Linked DNA regions of Homo sapiens: region 1 is linked to region 2. Evidence: promoter capture Hi-C in 16 types of primary human blood cells and fetal thymus (Javierre and others, 2016). All regions are on one chromosome and are shown on one strand. Each heading gives the region's core, a stretch centred on a gene start or on the middle of the fragment in contact. The rest is flanking DNA. Distances are from core to core; before and after follow the strand shown. Region 1 has its middle 23 kb from the start of MESD. Region 2 holds the start of ARNT2 (aryl hydrocarbon receptor nuclear translocator 2).

Region 1 (3,447 bases), core at 754-3,253, 560 kb after region 2:
ATGGGAGAAAATTCTTGCAATCTATCCATCTGACAAAGGGCTAATATCCAGAATCTACAAAGAACTTAAACAAATTTACAAGAAAAAAACAAACAACACCATCAAAAAGTGGGCAGAGGATATGAACAGACACTTCTCAAAAGAAGACATTTATGCAGCCAACAGACATATGAAAAAATGTTCATGATCACTGGTCATCAGAGAAATGCAAATCAAAACCACAATGAGATACCATCTCACACCAGTTAGAATGGCGATTAAAAAGTCAGGAAACAACAGATACTGGAGAGGATGTGGAGAAACAGGAACACTTTTACACTGTTGGTGGGAGTGTAAATTAGTTCAACTATTGTAGAAGACAGTGTGGCAATTCCTCAAGGATCTAGAACTAGAAATACCATTTGACCCAGCAATCCCATTACTGGGTATATGCCCAAAGGATTATAAATCATGTTGCTATAAAGACACATGCACACATATGTTTATTGTGGCACCATTCACAATAGAAAAGACTTGGAACCAACCCAAATGTCCATCAATAATAGACTGGATAAAGAAAATGTGGCACATACACACCATGGAATACTATGCAGCCATAAAAAAGGATGAGTTCATGTTATTTGCAGGGACATGGATGAAGCTGGAAACCATCATTCTCAGCAAAATATCACAAGGACAGAAAGCCAAACACTGCATGTTCTCACTCATAAATGGGAGCTGAATAATGAGAACACATGGACACAGGGAGGGGAGCATCACACACCAGGGCCTATTGTGGGGTAGGGGACTGGGGGAAGGATAGCAATAGGAGAAATACCTAATGTAAATGATGAGTTGATGGGTGCAGCAAACCAACATGGAACGTGTATACCTATGTAACAAACCTGCACGTTGTGCACATGTACCCTAGAACTTAAAGTATAATAATAAAAAAAAAGAAAAGAAAAAACAAATTGGCTAAATTGAGGTATAGCCTCCTCCCCAAAATAAAGATTAAAAATGATTATTAAAATGTTGATAATTATTAGAACTGGGTGACAAGGAATGGTGACCCACTCTATTTTTTGTGTGTACATTTAAGATATTTCCATGATAAAGTTTTTGAAAGTTAGAAATAACCATTTTAGAAAATACTTAGCATAACCAATCAAGAACTTTAAAAGAATCATCATCATTTTTTTTTTTGGACCTACTAATTACATACATATCTGGGGATTTAGCCTAATGAAATAGAGCATGGGTATGAAGATGCTCATTGTAGCATTATTTATAATGACTTGACAGGTTCAAATAACCTAAATGTTCATCTACACAGAAATGACCAAATAAATTATGGCCTCATTTGATGAACTATTATACCTCATCAAAATAATATTTACAAAGGGTTTGTAATAACAAACTACTCATTTGCAGAGCCAGTGGCAGAGGCCCTTTGGTTTCTGAAAGTCACAGAGTATTACAGACAGAGAGACCTGAGAGCTCAACGGGCCCAGTGCTCCCCATATTAGAGGTGTGTTCACACACACATGTGCACACACACACAAACCAAGCTTCCACCCCTCCTGCTGTGCCACTGCCCCCAGCTTCCAGGCTGCCTCTGTGTCCACTCATGCCTGCTCAAATCTCAGCTTAGTGGCCACCTGCTCCAGGAAGCTTTTCTCTGGCCTCCCTTGGAAAATCCCTCTGTTGCAAGCTACAAGCACCTTGCATAGTTGCCACTGTACACTGTGGGTGTGTGTATTTGATTCAGGCCCTCTTCTTCCATACCCTGCTGCCTCTCTGCTCCACAACCTTTGCACCTCTTCTCTTCCTCCTGATTCTGCATCTCAAAAGCCCAAATAACTGGCTTGAAGTGGCCAACTCCTCCTTATTGGGCAGTTCCGCTGGTTAAATTCCTCTGGGAAATGCTGGCCCATTCCAACTGAGGCCCATCGAGGTGATGCGCTCAAGGCATTGATTTTAAAACTAGAAGTAGAAGCCCTTGGCCGGGCGCAGTGGCTCACTCCTGTAATCCTAGCACTTGGGAGGCTTAGGTGAGCAGATCACCTGAGGTCAGGAGTTCGAGACCAGCCTGACCAACATGAAGAAACCCCCGCCTCTACTAAAAATACAAAATTAGCTGGGCATGGTGGTGCATGCTTGTAATCCCAGCTACTTGGGAGGCTGAGGCAGGAGAATCACTTGAACCCGGGAGGTGGAGGTTGTGGTGAACCGAGATCACACCATTGCACTCCAGCCTGGGCAACAAGAGTGAAACTCCATCTCAAAAAAAGAAAAAGAAAAAAGAAAAGAAAAGAAGTAGGAGCCCTCAGGGAGTTTTAATTTAGAGCAAGGACCTCAGAGAATTTGTAAGGAAGCTTCTATCCTAAGGGAGTCAGGGACCTCCTTTGCATTAGAATAAGGATCCCTATTGTCTTGTTTCTTCCAGACCCTGGCATGTAAATCCCAGGCCTGGCAGGACTTGCCACCCTGTTTATAGAAGAGGTAAGGCCCAGGGAAAGCAAGTATGGCACTCAATGTCGTCCAACTTGGAGCTGAGGTAGGAGGCATGGATCAAAGGGGCCCCAGTGTTTCTAGGCCTATGGCTGAAGCTCTCTCCTGCAGGAAGAATGCGGGCTGGCCTGAAAAACAGATGCAAGGCAGACCAGATGTCCCTGGGCATTCTTCACATTCCACCAACTGCAGCCCTCCTTGGCTGAGAGCTGCCAAGTCTGGGCTTCCAATTCATCAGCTTGGAAACTTCACCTCAGAAACTTCGGCAGACTTCTCTGGAGAAAACAAAAATTGCCCTAGGTCTGCCAGGGAACAGTGGTCAAAGATTTAAAATTGCAAGTTGGGCTGCTGAGATCCAGAATTTGACAAGCCCAGGTTTAAGCTGATTCAACAAGATCTATGGAGAGTTGGCCAAGTGGCCCCAACTGCAGGCTCAGGTTTTCCCAGATGCTGGATCAAGTGGAAAGGGGTCCAACATCTCAAGTTTCTGGCTTGTGACACTTGCGTGGGACCTCCTGAAATCTGCCTACCAAAAATTTCCTTGTACCAGCAAGCAGCATGGTCAAACTGCAGTCTCCTGCAGACCGCTTGGACTCTGGCAGCTCTGCCCCTTTCAGGGCAAACCATCTCACCTGAGAGCAGGTCCTCAGCCATGCAGGTATCTGAGAGCAGAGCACCAAGGTGGTGGGAACGGCAGATGTTTCTGCCTGGAAGGAAGCTGACCCGCTCTGCTCTGGCATACCCTACACTGGGCAAGGTGGCCATTCTCCTTCTGGAGCAATCTCTGTGGCCCATGTAGAATTCCATCCCAGCCCCTCCCTTAGAGTGTCAAGCCACAGTGAAAACTGCAGTGCCTCCAGAAGAAAACAGCCCAGGCAGGATGTTATCCTGCCTTCTCCTAGCTGTGACTCTCAGCAAGGGGCTTAACCCCTACAAGCTTCTGTCTAGTCACCT
Region 2 (3,700 bases), core at 50-2,549:
AGCCCCCAAGGGAGCTGTGTGCTTCTTGAGTGCAGATACTTTGTTTCACTCTTCCCCACTCTACCCCCCAAACCAGAAGAACAGAGCTCCTGTTTCTTCCTTTCCATGGTAGGCCCAACACCTGGCTTTGTGCCTGGCACACAGCAGACATTCAACATTTGTAGAACTGATAGACTATTAGATTAGTAGTGACAAATACTCCCCGAAGAAAATGCTTATTTGAACATACATCCCAAATTTTCTGCCCTCCAGAAAATGCTTCCTTGGAAGGATTTAAGACAGTTTGATGTCTCTGCAAACATTATCTGCGTTTAGGGACCAACTTGCCCTTCTCAGCGTTCACCTGGGATGTCTTTATTCTTCCATTTAACCTTTACAGGGGACCCCGATGGTGACGTGTCCTTCCTAGGGGCCATTACCTCTCTCAGGGATCCTAGTGTCTGGTAGAAAACAACAGCTCCAAGTTCTCTGCATCCAAACTTCGCCAGGATACGCAGATAAACCTATTTAAAAAAAAAAATCTTTTTAAATTCTCAACTTGGTGGTGTAAATAAGGCCCTTGCAGCGCCCTCAAGTAATAATCAACGGCAGTCATTATGGAAGGAGGGTAGAGATGAGCGCCTTACTCAAAGCCAAGACATTCACAATTTCTCGGGCCGGCTGCCTGTGCCTGGGCGTGTGCACTGTGCACTCCGAAGCTGTGTGCGGCGGTGGCCTTGGAGGTGCGCGTGGCCTTAGGAATTCCCGCGGTCGGGCACCCTCCGCTTAACACCGGGCCGTGTCCCCGGCCTGGGAGCCGAGCAGCGCGGCTCTGGCATGCTAAGTGGGCAGCACTGGGGCGCCTTTGTTCCTCGCGGCCGTCTCCCAGGACCGGCTTCCCTCTGAATCTAAATGGGCTTCTCCCTCACCCGCTCCGCCCTGGCCTCCTGGCCTGGGCACGGCGCCCCTGGGTAAAGCGCGCCCGGACACCTGGGGCGTGGGCGTGCGGGGGCAGCCCGGGCTAGGCGAGCGCGGGAGAGGCGCCTGCGGTCCCAGCCCGGCCAGGCCCGAGCACCTGCGCGAGCCCGAGGGAGCGCCCGGCCCTCTGCCCCCGCCAGTCGCCGGCGCCCAACTTGGGGGTCCCGCCGTCCGCAGCCCCAAGTCTCGCGGTGCTACCGCTCTGACCGGGGAGCCGCGGGCCGGGCGCCCCCCGCCGCGCGACAAAGGCTGAACCGGGAGGAGGAGGCCGAGGAGGGGGAGGAGGAGGAGAGAAAGGCGGGGACGGCGAGCGGCCGCGGCGGCGGGGAGAGCGGAGGGAGCGCCGCCCGCCCGCGCCGTCCTTTGTGTGGCGGCGGCGGCGCCTGGGCCTGACCGGGTCCCCGGGGCTGAGCGCCGGGCTCCGCGCCGCCCCTCCCGCGCCCCTGCCAAGCGGGCGCCTATCCTCTCCGAGCAAGATGGCAACCCCGGCGGCGGTCAACCCTCCGGGTGAGTAGCGGCCTGGGCCCCGCCGCCCGCCGCAGCCCGCAGGCCTTGCCCGGGGCCGGAGCGGACCAGGCGCGCCGGGCGCCCCCGGGGGCGCGGAGCCGCAGCTCGGCGCGGTGGGTGGTGGAGCGGCTGTCACTACGCGGCAGCCGCAGCATCAGCACCAGAGCGGCATCTGCATCCCAATCGCTGCCCATCCGGTCCCGGGCAGGCGCCGGTCCGGACCCGCGGGCGGCCGGACGCTGGCCTCGCATCCTCGGGAACCCGAAGGGCAGGCCCGGGAGCCCCCGAAGTTCTGAAAATAACCGCCTTTGCCTTCCCCATCCCACGCATTTTTCTCTTCCGGTCCCGGCTTTTGTGGCATCACGGCGTCAGCCAGTCCTGGCTGGTGGAGGGCTCCGCGCTGACGGAGGGAAAAGTTTGGAGCTGGGATTCAACAGGGTACAACTCCCGGGACTCTCCCCTGCCCGCCCCGCCCACTAAGCGCTGGTCCTTTGCGCCCTTTGCGACTGGCTGCTGTGTGTCCTAACCCTCCGGGGGCACAAAACACCCAGCCTGTGGTCACCAGCGTGGAGCAGCCCTGGTCCTGCCCAGGTGACATCCTCTGCTTTCTGGTCTGACCTGTCCCCAGGGTGCAGTCTGTGACAACTGAGCTCATTAGGAAATATTTCAAAAATGGAAGAGTTCTTGATCAAGTGGCAACATTGACTTGTTTTGGTATTGTAGTAGGGAAGTTCCGTTTTCACTGGGAAAGTTCCCTACCTGATGAGCAGGGTGTGGGAGAAGAGAAACGTGAACATCTAAGCTAGTACAAACTTTTGGGTGTTGTGCAGAGGCTGCTGTGGGCACGGCAGGTTGCTGGGTCCCTGTGGAAGATGCAGGGAGAGTCACAGAGGGCGGCCCCCAGGAAATTCCCAGCAGAGGGAGGTCATGTGTTGGAGATAGGGAGGGTCGGGGGAGGAACAGCAATGCCTAGCAAAGAAAAGTGTCTCTCATCATAGAATTAGGAATGAAAGATCCCTTTCATCTAAGGCGGCCAGGGAAGGCTTCTGGAGATTGGACATTTCGGCTGAACCTTGAAAACGGGAATGTTTGAATATACAGAGCCAGTAGCAGAGGGGCATTGCAGGCGTAAGTAACAGTGGACTTGCTCTAAGCAAGTGCAGAGGTCAGTGAGTAGTTGGTGCACTGGGGATATAAGAGGCAGCAGTGGGATTTAACACTGAGTTGTTTGGATGTGACCAGGCTTTAAAGGACAGACTGAGGAGTATGGACTTTCTCTCTCCACATTAAGGGAGAGTCCTCTGCACACTTCCTAAGAACCAGAAAAATAAAATAAAATAGAAAAGAGAGAGAGAGACAGAGAGAGAGAGAGAGAGACCTCAATGGTATTGAACAAGGAAATCGCATGATCACTTTTTCTGGAAGACTGATTTGTCAGCTATGTCTAGGAAACATTCTAAGGAGGGAACAAGACTTGAGACAGGGAGGCCAGCATGAAATGAGGCAGGTGCTGGGGAGGCCAGAATTGGTGGCCATGGCTGGACCAGAGAGGAAGGAATGCACCACTGGGCGGGTAGAAGAGTTCCAGATTTGGCACTGATTAGATTTGGAGTAAGAGTAAAGGAGGAGGCCAAGGAGAGACAAAGGGGAGGTGTCCATGGAGACACCAAGGTGAAGAGCCTGTGTAATTCCAAGGAAGGCAGTTCCATCAGCAGAAATAGGGACTCTTGGAAGAACAGACAAGGAGGCCTCTGTCCAGAACACTGAGGAGGAACGTGGCTGGTCTGAAAACAAATCTGTGCCAGTTTGCCTGTGACTGAAGCTGCAATTTCAACCCATTCAACTACTTCAAAATCAATGGAAAATTGATAGATGTAAATGTTATGAAATTAGAAAAAGCAAAAGATGTTAAATGAAAACATTTTAGTCCAATATACACTGGGAACAGGAATAAAATCCCTGGTGATTTACATAATTTCTATGCCAGGACATCATTGTTTAAAACTTTTTTGTCCATTACATTGCTCCATGAGCTACATGGACTAAAGATCTAAAGATGGAGTAACTGCCCCTGGCCCCGTGGTGTGAAGCACAGGAAAGCCTGTGCCTGTGCCTTGGACTGCGGGAGACTTGAATGGTACAAGCATAGGGTATTGTTGGCGTTGCTAGTCAACACCTGGCCAGCTTGACAGATGCTTTTCTCTGTTGACAGCTATACCAGAGATCTTCAGCATGG

The links. The method cuts DNA at HindIII sites, captures the fragments that hold promoters and counts their contacts. A CHiCAGO score of 5 or more calls a contact.
Region 1: a contact is called between a fragment that was not itself captured here and the fragment with the promoter of ARNT2 in region 2, in 1 of 17 cell types (M0 macrophages). The highest score is 5.1, in M0 macrophages.

The regions. Positions count from the first base shown.
Region 1 is chr15:80,965,028-80,968,474 of GRCh38, forward strand. It overlaps a transcript of MESD not described here. Among named protein-coding and RNA genes, the nearest start is that of MESD, 23 kb to the right of the region's middle. RefSeq lists an enhancer at 1,575-2,090. The HindIII fragment of the contact is 704 bases long and covers 1,652-2,355 here.
Region 2 is chr15:80,403,083-80,406,782 of GRCh38, forward strand. ARNT2 (aryl hydrocarbon receptor nuclear translocator 2) reads left to right here and starts at 1,300. Exons shown (of 19, transcript NM_014862.4): 1 at 1,300-1,464. The coding sequence starts at 1,434. ARNT2-DT (ARNT2 divergent transcript) reads right to left here and starts at 1,114. Exons shown (of 6, transcript NR_184070.1): 1 at 909-1,114; 2 at 420-503. RefSeq lists an enhancer at 731-1,231. The HindIII fragment of the contact is 4,789 bases long and covers 1-3,700 here.